Linked DNA regions of Homo sapiens: all the other regions are linked to region 1. Evidence: promoter capture Hi-C in human tissues and cell types (Jung and others, 2019). All regions are on one chromosome and are shown on one strand. Each heading gives the region's core, a stretch centred on a gene start or on the middle of the fragment in contact. The rest is flanking DNA. Distances are from core to core; before and after follow the strand shown.

The links. Contacts are between HindIII fragments. The study calls those that stand out against the background at their distance.
Region 2: a contact is called between a fragment that was not itself captured here and the fragment with the promoter of TERF2IP in region 1, in 1 of the 25 tissues and cell types used here (lymphoblastoid cells).
Region 3: a fragment that was not itself captured here is called in contact with the fragment with the promoter of TERF2IP in region 1 in 1 of the 25 tissues and cell types used here (dorsolateral prefrontal cortex).
Region 4: a contact is called between a fragment that was not itself captured here and the fragment with the promoter of TERF2IP in region 1, in 1 of the 25 tissues and cell types used here (lymphoblastoid cells).

Annotation. Positions count from the first base shown.
Region 1 is chr16:75,646,515-75,649,214 of GRCh38, forward strand. TERF2IP (TERF2 interacting protein) reads left to right here and starts at 1,259. Exons shown (of 3, transcript NM_018975.4): 1 at 1,259-2,038. The coding sequence starts at 1,369. It overlaps KARS1 (lysyl-tRNA synthetase 1), which reads right to left and starts at 1,151. Exons shown (of 14, transcript NM_005548.3): 1 at 1,064-1,151. The coding sequence starts at 1,125. RefSeq lists enhancers at 1,004-1,183, 1,223-2,180, 2,114-2,383, 2,181-2,700 and a silencer at 1,684-1,803. The HindIII fragment of the contact is 7,104 bases long and covers 1-2,700 here.
Region 2 is chr16:76,889,389-76,892,096 of GRCh38, forward strand. It overlaps the pseudogene LOC100128497. Among named protein-coding and RNA genes, the nearest start is that of MIR4719, 22 kb to the left of the region's middle. The HindIII fragment of the contact is 4,659 bases long and covers 1-2,708 here.
Region 3 is chr16:76,663,615-76,666,339 of GRCh38, forward strand. No RefSeq gene overlaps it. Among named protein-coding and RNA genes, the nearest start is that of LINC02125, 30 kb to the left of the region's middle. The HindIII fragment of the contact is 3,222 bases long and covers 1-2,725 here.
Region 4 is chr16:74,287,680-74,290,407 of GRCh38, forward strand. No RefSeq gene overlaps it. Among named protein-coding and RNA genes, the nearest start is that of PSMD7, 7.8 kb to the right of the region's middle. The HindIII fragment of the contact is 4,708 bases long and covers 1-2,728 here.

The DNA of each region.
Region 1 (2,700 bases), core at 9-2,508:
TGGCGACAGAGCGAGACTCCATCTTAAAAAAAAAAAAAAAGAAACATCATTTCTCTTTTCTTTTTCATTCAGGGTCTGGCTCCGTCTCAGTAACTCCTTGGGGAAAGCGATGGAGAAGGGCTCGCTCACGCAGCACTTCTGGCAGTCCCTGAAGGACCACTACCTCAAGTCTCCCAGGCTGGAGTGCAGTGGCACGACTTCAGCACACTGCAACCTCCGCCTCCTGGGTTAAAGCGATTCTCCTGCCTCAGTCTCCCGAGTAGCTGGGATAACAAGTGCGCGCCACGGGGATTAAGCCCTCTCGTATGCCTCTGGAATGGTACTATGTACCATCTTCCTAGCAATGATAAAACACTCAATTACCTGTGTTCTGTGGTTCAAATGGGGAACGCTAATGAGAATATAAGACAGCCAGTTAAAGGGTGGCTAATCCTGACTTATCTATGTTAACCTACATACTCCAGGGATTTGGGAGTGGTTAACAAAGATATCAGGCTGAATTAAGATGGTCTCTACTGTTAGACGTTGATCACTTAATACTCACAGGTATCTACTGAATAACCCATACGGGTAGATGCATGACAGTTTTAGAACTGATCCCTTTTAATACATAACGTTCAGAATGACCTTAGTGAGGCCCAGAAAATTTTGAAGGTCTTTCTGAAAAGCTAGGGTATTTAACATTTCTCCAACTTCCACGTTTACTGAGTGGCTCAACAAAAGAATGCATTTCTCAGAAAGGAGGATGAAGCTAAGCAGGAAGTTTCGCTTTTCTTTTCTGATAACTCTTAGTTCTCGTCCTAGTTCCTCCTCCACAGTCTCTTAACTCTAGGAGTATGATAGGGAGCATCCCGCCGGTGCCAGCTGGGAACGGGGAGCCGGCGTGCCCGGGGTATCCCGGGGTACGTGGTCTGCAGGGCGCAGCCACCACGTCTCAGCATGTGCGTACCCACGAGAGCCGGCAAGAAGGCCCCGGCACAGCAGCCTTGGTGGGAACCTCGCGGCGCTTCCCAGCCCAGACTCTCCTACCGCAAAGGCTTTAAAGACTCGCAGCGACACTCACTTCTTGCTCAGTTTCGGCTCGCTGCCATCCACTTTCACCTCGGCCGCCTGCACGGCCGCCATCTTCCCGGAGGGCCCGACCCAAAAGTAAGGAGGATAGTACGTTAATTTCCAGGTCAAGGTGCGAAGCCCCACCTCTTCCGGGGGAGAGGGGGCGGGCACTCTCGATGCGCCGCGGCTGCTGCTGCGCAGGCCCAGTGCTGCGCTTCGCGGCAGAGGCGTCTGCGGTGACAGCTCAGTCAGTTGAGCTCTGTGTGCCAGGCGCTCGCGAGGGGGTAGCTCTTCTAGTAGTGCTCGGCGTCAGACATGGCGGAGGCGATGGATTTGGGCAAAGACCCCAACGGGCCCACCCATTCCTCGACTCTGTTCGTGAGGGACGACGGCAGCTCCATGTCCTTCTACGTGCGGCCCAGCCCGGCCAAGCGTCGGCTGTCGACGCTCATCCTGCACGGCGGCGGCACCGTGTGCCGAGTGCAGGAGCCCGGGGCCGTGCTGCTGGCCCAGCCCGGGGAGGCGCTGGCCGAGGCCTCGGGTGATTTCATCTCCACGCAGTACATCCTGGACTGCGTGGAGCGCAACGAGAGGCTGGAGCTGGAGGCCTATCGGCTGGGCCCCGCCTCGGCGGCGGACACCGGCTCGGAAGCAAAGCCCGGGGCCCTGGCCGAGGGCGCCGCGGAGCCGGAGCCGCAGCGGCACGCCGGGCGGATCGCCTTCACGGATGCGGACGACGTAGCCATCCTTACCTACGTGAAGGAAAATGCCCGCTCGCCCAGCTCCGTCACCGGTAACGCCTTGTGGAAAGCGATGGAGAAGAGCTCGCTCACGCAGCACTCGTGGCAGTCCCTGAAGGACCGCTACCTCAAGCACCTGCGGGGCCAGGAGCATAAGTACCTGCTGGGGGACGCGCCGGTGAGCCCCTCCTCCCAGAAGCTCAAGCGGAAGGCGGAGGAGGACCCGGAGGCCGCGGATAGCGGGGGTGAGGAGGCTGAGCGCGGGGCCTCGCGGATATCTGCGCGGGTGGGGTTGGGATCTTTCTCCTGGCTGCCTGGCGTCCATCTTGGCATCTTCGGTAGCAGCGCTTGGCCCCGCCCCCTGTTGACATCCGGGTAAATTTGCACCATTTTCTTGCCTTCTCGCTCCCTTGTTGTTTATTATTGTTCTTTTTTTGCGATGGGTCTCTGTTACCTAAGCTGGTCTGAACTCCTGAGCTCAAGCGATCCTCCTGCCTCGGCCACCCAAAGTGTTGGGATTACAGGAGTGAGCCACCACGTCTGGCCTCTCGTCGTTTTTATTTTTTAATTTTTGAGTGGGGGCTCGCTCCGTCGCCCAGGCTGTGATGCAGCCGCGCGATCACGACCTACTGCATCCTGGACCTCCTGGGCTCAAGCGAATCTCCGGCTTCAGCCTCCCAAGTAGCTGGAACTACACTCCCGCGCCACCACGTCCCGCTAAATTAAAAAAAAAATTGTTGTAGAGATGGGGGTCTCGTTGTGTTGCCCTGACAGGTCTCGAACTCTTGGGCTCAAGCGATCCTCCCGTCTCGGTGTCCCAAAGTGTTGGGATTACAGGCGTGAGCCATCACACCCAGCTTCTTGGTCTAGTTTTAATTTACTTTACCATTGACTAGAATATTGACAT
Region 2 (2,708 bases), core at 48-2,547, 1.2 Mb after region 1:
TTGATAAGAATATAGCTAAATACCCTAACTATGCCATTTGTTTGTATTGATAAGAATATAGCTGAAGCAGATCACTTTCTCATTAAGTTGTCTCATTAGGCTAATCGAAGCAGGTAGCTTTCTCCTCAAGGCCTAAACCACCTTGATACCAAATAACAGCACCACTTTTAATCTCTTTCCACTTAAGTAAGTGCCTCATCCAATAACTGCACACGATACTCATTAATATTGATAAATATTGAAGAAGGAAATAAATCATAATACCTGTGCTTTGTAAATAGCATGGAACAGTGGGGGGAAAAATGCTCCTATCTCTGGGAAGCATGAGACAAATTGCAGAGTCATTATCAAGCACAGCCCTAGGGGCCTGGGGGAGAAAATCTGCTGGTCCCAGTCTGAGACTGAAAATTTAACATGCGCAGAACCTGGCCAGAAAGTCAAAAAAGTTGACATGACCAAATCATGAGTAACTTGGTTTCTCTCTTCCTGGAGAGACAGTTAATCTCAGTGTTGATAAAAAGGAACTCCTTAGTGTCCTGTAGCCAAAGTTAAACAAGAGAAAATATTACATTCACTTTTGGTGAATGTAGCCACCAGCAGAAAAAGTCACTAAAACTAGGAAACTTGCTTCCATTGAGACTGTTTTTCCAGGTACCCAGAGCTGTCTAGATAGGTTGTTTTGTAATGAACGGCCACTTTCTTCCTAAGAAATACCTTCTTCCATAACAGCTGTGCAAAGCTAAGGAAACAAAGTGGAGATTCATTTCTCAAGTCATCTGTAAGAAGCTGTTTAATTTTATTCACTTGGTTCCAAACTCAAAGCCCTATAGTTATTCTAAAGATCTTATGGGAAAAGAGAATTTCAGTCCTCCATGGGGCCCCCTCCATGGTAAGGGGATCATGGCTGTGGCACTACCTTCCCAGTGAAGCCCATTTGGTTCATATAGCAGGATGGTAGGTGACCCCTTAGAATCACTGTACATAATGACACCCATCTCATAAAACATCAGTGCATGCTCAGGAGACATTCCTGGAAAAAAATTTAAAAAAAAATTTAATGCACACTCTCATACTCACACACATCACATGAAACATACACTCACACATATTCATAACACAAAATTAAGACACATGCAGACCACAAACACAACAGATGCTACACATATGAGTATCCACAAATATTAAATGTTAAATTTAAACTCTATTGCTGTAAGTTGTCCTGAGTCACTTTCGTTTGTAAATTAAAAGATTAGAACTTGTTCAAGATGTAAAACACACTTAAAAATCTGTGTCTAGTTTTGTCTTTAGTTTTCTTTCCAGTTAATATTTTCCATAGTTTCTTAGTTTTGCTATCCTTCTAACCTAATTGCTCTAATTTTTAAGTATGATCAGTGGGAAGAAGAAAAGAATCCATCATTAAAAATAACCTGAACATAATTTTCTAAGTGTTTTCTTTCTAATTTTTGTGGGTACATAGTAGGTGTATATATTTATGGATTACATTAGATATTTTGATACAGGCATGCAACGTGTAATAATCATATCAGGGTAAATGGGATATCCATTACCTGAAGCATTTATCCATTGTATTATAAGCAATACAATACCATCTGAGTGTTTCCTTAAGTAACTGTCTTCTCATCACATATATCATATATATTATATATGTATATCATGTATATAAAGCAACATCATAAATATTAAACAGTATCATATATATGTGACTATAACCATATGTGTATGTAACTATCAATTACATGTCTCTTTATATATGAAGAATGAAACAATTCTTCTAGTCAGCTTGAAATGCTGACAAGCTAGAAGCATTATTTGTCTTTATTTTTGGAGTAAAGGAACCGGCACACCTGTTCTTCACTTGCACATCAACTTTCAAGTGAGTTTGGCAACATTAGCTCTTGTTGCTATGCAAGATATATCTGGTCTTCCTGAAAAGGCTACCTTATTTGAGAACATGACAAGGCTCACAAAAAAGTACAATGCAAACAATATAAGAGCTTCATATGAATGACATGACATTTTTACCCATTGGTGTTTAAACGTCATCTGCATCAGTTTTGAAGGAGTATTATGTATACGTGGTTTGTTCTTTGCATCAATATTTCTCTCTGGATCCTCCAAAGACTTAGCTGAAGCATGTGCTCTTATTTTTCTGACAGAATGATGTGAAAATATCTGTGCCTGTAAGGATAATTTCATCTTGTATATTGGTATTTTGCTTCCTCTAACCAAAACCTTATCAATGTTTATTTTCTTGTTTATGTGTCATTTCTTCTATTCTTGACCAGACTTTCTGTTGTAATACTATAAGAACAGATTCATGTAATCAGTGATAGATACAAGGATTTGGGCCTGTTTTTGGATGACTTGTTGGTAACGGTATAGTTGGATGGTGTTCAGTTGGGAATTTTTCTCTTTTTACCAGAAAGCTATGCTATGTTGATACTTTACATCCACATACAATGTTGATACTTAGATGGCACACTGAGACATATAAAAGACCCAGCTCCAATCATTTGAGATGTATTTGTAAGAAGGTATCAAATATTTTTTAAAATCACTATTGTCATATTTTTCAAACAAATTTACTTTTATACATAAAAGATGCAAAGCAAAATTCAATAAGATTGTTTTATTGAGCATCAAAGACTCCATTTAGGAGGCAGATGATAAAGGAGTCAAGCAAAGAA
Region 3 (2,725 bases), core at 68-2,567, 1.0 Mb after region 1:
TTATCTGACTTTAAGGAAAGTAAGTACTACGTGAGTGGAATAATACTAAGGATAAAGCTTCTTCAGGCATGTGGTATTTTTAGAAGATCATTTAATCAATCTGATTCCACGCAATTGATCTGAGTCCATAGGTCTGGTTTGATTGGCATCAGTGATTCCAGTAGTTCCCAGAAACAGCCAGGTGATGAGATCTGCTATAGGATGTTATTTTAGGAACATGGAGATAGCACAGCCTCTTTCTCATGCCGGCACTCATGATGAAGACTAAAGTTGGTTCTGGCCTGTGTCCATGCTGTGCCTAGGGATACAAGCTTGATCCATTCACATATAATGTTAATACGTGAAGACATCTTTCATAATCATTTTGGTAACACACTGTAAGGAGTGAAGAAATGTTGAAATTATCTTGTGTGGTGGATAATACCCAAAGATAGGCACCTGTTACTCCTTCCGTGCACCTCCACGTAGCTGCTTCCATCACGAGATGAAGTCTAATCCACTTCCAGACCTCTTGAATCTGGGCTGCTCTTAACGACTGGCTTGATTAGTAGAATGCAACGGAATTGATCTTCCGGGATTTTGGAAGCAAATCATAGGAAGGTGGCAGCTTCCTATGTCTTCCTTAGTCTTGTTTGGGGGAAAACTGGGTCATGTAAGAAGTCTGATAACCATGAGACCATCATGCTATGAAGAAATACAGTCTAGCCTCATGGAAAGCCTGCCTGGGAGAGAAGATTCCTGATCACCCTGTAGCTGTTCCAGCCATCCCAGTGGAGGTACCTGACAAGTGAGTCTCGAGCTCCAGCCACCATCTAATGGCAACGGTATAAGAGACCTCAGGTGCAAACTACCTAGCTAAGCCCAGCCAACTCTTGTTACTATGACTAATAACACTAAATGATTGTGTAAGCCAATACATTGGGAGTGGGAGGTTGTGCTGCAATATGTAACTAAACACCTGACTTCAAATGGGGATATTTAGCATTTTGTCTTCTCCATTCTGCATTTTAATAACCTCCAAAAGTATCTTCTTGGCATGTTTCTTGTTGTTGTTTATCATATTAGCACCCTGATAAATTATATGCCAAGAGTGTCTTTACTTCAGGCTACATTTCTTGTGTAGGTGTGTGCTTTCTGCTGGGCTGTCAACTCAATGATGCTACAAGCCTCTAAATTCCTTTAAGACTGCAGCACACATTATTTTTTGGCATGCTTTGATTATATCCCCTTTGCTGTCTGTCCCTGAACTCTTTATAGTAAAAATTGATGTTGTGAAGGAAGCCCCAAAAAAAGATCCTGCAAATAATATCAAAGCAGAATATGTATTTATCTCTCTTGTCATATTAGTCATTAACAACACAATATGTTGGTCCCTTCTTAAGATCAATTTCCTCAAAATATACTACTGTTTCTCCTGTGTGAGACTGAAATATTGACTTTAATTTGCATTTTTCCTGATTACCAGTGAGCTTGAACATTTTCTTTCCACGTGTTTATTGCTTTTCAGGTGACTGCTCATACATATTTTGTGCCTTATTGAGTTTTAGGATTTCTTTATACTGGCTGCCTGAATAAGCTATAAAGATACTCCTTGCCTGTGTCTTGTGTTTTGAATCTGTTTATGATTTATTTTATTGCATAGATGTAGCAGTATTTCATGTATGATTGTGCAGCTTTAAGAAAGTCTTCTTTACCCTGATATCCCAAGAATAATTACCTATATATTTTCTAGACATTTTAGATAAGCTTTACTCATTGGGATGTTTAGTATATTTGAGCTTGACTTTGGTATGTGATGTGAGCATGGGATATATTTTTCCTATGGATGTTCAATTTTCCCATTAGCATTTAGTAAAAAGCCATCATTTCTCAGTGATTTGTAATGCCTCCCTTTTTCACAAGCCAGGTTTCCAGGCACACCTGAGTGTGTGTCTGTGCTCAATATTCTCTCATCTTGTCTCTTTGACTGTGTCATATTAATACCATGCTCCATTAAAATGTAGGTAACAGTTTAAACTTTTGTTTCTAGTTACCTCACAGTATGTTTCTTTTGCTATTATAAAGGAGAGTGGTTTTTAAAATTACATTTTGTAATTAATCATTGCTTTTGAGTGTAGCGTGCAAAGGAAGTGAATGTATAACCAGAAGCATTGATGCTGCTACACTGCCTAATTTTTAACCCCAGCATTACCAGCTGGTAGTGACTTGTAATTCTGCTGATTTTTGCCTTCTGCAGTCTGCAGCTCAGTTAATAAAATCAATTATGTTTAGAGTTATACCGCTAAATGACTCTAAAATCCTTTTAAGTATATTATTTGCTAATTCTCTGTGTGTCAGGCATAGCAAACTTGAGGTAGCAGGCACTTCAGTTACATGAAAGGAAAATGTTATAATTAATCTTAACACTTGAAAGAAAATGTTGCTAAATGATTTAAGGTATGGTTATAGTGTGATCTGTCCAGCAGAGGGACTAGCAGAAATAATACATTGAAATTGAAATAGAAATATATTTGTTCCCCCATATTGTGTCACTTAGGTTGCACTCTATTTTCGGCATATTTTGTATAGCATTTTTCTCATGCCATGGACATCTGCATACATTTTTGCCCAATACGCTTTGCTTTTATAGAAAAAATGTTTTCCATTTTAATCATCATTTCTGAAATCCTGGTGACTGTTTTTGTGATAATCACTAATACTGTTCACAAAATATTCCTGGCTTTTT
Region 4 (2,728 bases), core at 229-2,728, 1.4 Mb before region 1:
GAGACTCCGTCTCAAAAAAAAAAAAAAAAAAAAAAAATACAAAATTAGCTAGGCGTGGTGGCACATGCCTGTAATCTCAGCTACTCAGGAGGCTGAGACAGGAGAATCGCCTGAACCTGGGAGGTGGAGGTTGTGGTGAGCTGAGATCCCACCATTGCACTCCAGCCTAAGCAACAACAGTGAAACTCCATCTCAAAAAAAATAAAAGAGAAGTTTCCATCTCTTAGTGGCATCCTCCTTTCCCTCTCTTTTCTCCCTAAGGAGTACAGGCACATGGGGAGAGAGGGATGGGGTTTACGTGACTCAGTGGCCATGAAGGAAACAGGCCTATCCCCACACTGGTCCTTGGGCATGCCATGGCCAATGTCTGATGGTCTCTGATGCAATGTCTCCTATGGCCTGGTCACTGGGGGCCTTGTTGGCCTCCAAAGTCTGTTCATGGCTGGTGCACTTGGGACCCTTTCCTGGGCTAGGCTGTTCCAGGGGTGCTCTCAGGACAACCGGTCCCACCTCAGTGCCTCTGAGGTATACCTGTGACTCCAGTTCGGGCCGACTCAGGCATCCTACGCTATGGAATTCAACACAGAGCAGAAGTCTCCCCGACCATTATGGCCTCCTCCTCCTGCCACCTGTGGTCCTGTCCATGTCATAGCAGAACGACTGGTGGCTCAGGCAACCAAACCTGAAAGCCCCCATTCCACAGCCTTCATTGAGCTATCAACTGTGCCACCATGACCAGCTAATTTTTGTATTTTTAGTAGAGACAGGATTTCACCATGTCGGCCAGGCTGGTCTCAAACTCCTGATGTCAGGTGATCCATCCACCTTGGCCTCCCAGTGTGCTAGGGTTATAGGCGTGAGCCACCGCGCCCAGCCACTCCCCACATTTTGGATTACGCTCTGTTAGAGAAATAACATGAGCAGTGCTACTACTTGTGCCCAAATGTTTCACAGAGCTTTTATGAAAGAGCTCTTTCAGTTTTCTCATAAAGCTTACCAACATGGCTTTCTGGACTCAGATATAAGGGGCTGAACTGAGAGCCAACTCTGAGTGGCAGATTCATACTATCCCACGAATCACTACTTTCTCTCCAAAAACTGAGGGTGCGTTTCTGGGCCAAACCAGTGTATCTGACTCTTAAGATGAGTGCCATTGCAGGTCTCTCAGCGACTCATACAATTAGAGATCTAGTGGGCCTACCTTAGTTTGCCAGACATTCCCAAGGATGTCTGAACTCAACAACACATACAGCCTAGGCTAAAGGTGGCATCTCTGCTATGTATTCTTTTTTCTTCAAAATCTCTTAAGATGATAAATAGAGGCTGCAAAGTTCAAAGTATTGCTGAAATGCTTGTAAGACCGTTATTCCTTGTTCTGGACTTAGCAAAAATAACAACTCTTTTAAGATGCTGTAGTCTGTGGGGGCTAACTCCCTAAACTGAAAGATAAAAATGATCAAAGGAGAGGAAAATGTATTATCATCAAACTCTCTTCAGGTTCTCTCAAAGTTAAGTCCAAAATTCAATGAACAAAAGAAAATGGATTTCTTACACCTCCCTTCTGCATTCCTCTGAATAAATTCAGCCCCCATTAGTGGCTACAATATCAGAGATGATTTTATAAGTCAGTTATATTTTTAAAAGGGGAGTGGCAATGTAGAAAATGCCTCCTTTATGATTTCCAGTGGTCTTCTTTATACTCTATGCATTTTAGTCAAAATGATATTTCCATCAGACTCCAATTCTTAAACCTTATTTGACACATAAGAAAAATCAAAACCAATCTTTGATCATCTGATAGCCACTAAATCCTTAATTACAAATTAGAAGGGAAACTCCTTCACGCTTTTTTCATAATAGAGACGTCTACCCCATGCTGAATTGCATCACGTAAGAGATGAAACAACGTCTACTTTGAATCAGACACTAAACACCAGCAAGCATGCTTTATTTAACACATCACACAATGAGAGCTGACTTAAATCTTCTTAACCTAAAAGTTCTGCTATCTTAGAATGCAAGAGCAGTCATCTGATAGTCAAATCAAAAATATTAAAAGAAATGAAGAAAACCCAAAGCAATGTTCCCAAAAGTAAGAAAAGTACATGTAATGAAAGGGATTGACAAGACACAGAAAGAATATCAAAAGCTCCCTGATTACACTGGAAGAAGGCCAAGACTCAGAGCAAAAGTCTCCTGGTCAGTCTTCAAAGATGCACAGCTGAAGGCTCCTGAGCAATTGTGGGACTCAACCACAAAATGTGTAACTAATTATGCCTACAATTAGTTATGAGATTAGGTGATTAAAATTAAAAATGAGAAGTGTTATCAAGTCGAGTAACCCCAAAACAAAGAGGCACAATGGCCGCTACTACACTCTGAAATCAGGTTCTTCAGAACTTTCAAACAAACATTTCATCTAGAAGAACACATGCCGAACTGTTAGGGGTGATTATATGTGGGTGGTGGGATTATGGGAGATTTTTACTTTATAAGTTTTATATTTCTGTACTACGTGAAGTTCTAACAATGAGTGGACATTACTCTTAGGAACAGAAAGCATGCTTTTAGATCTTTTTGGTAAGTATATTTTCAAAAATTAAAAAAGAAAATTATGAAACAGCAGGAGTTTTCATTTTCATTTATTTAAGAGACAGTCTCACTCTCTCCCCCAGGCTGGAGTGCAGTGGCACAATCATAGCTCACTGTAACCTCATACTCCTAGGCT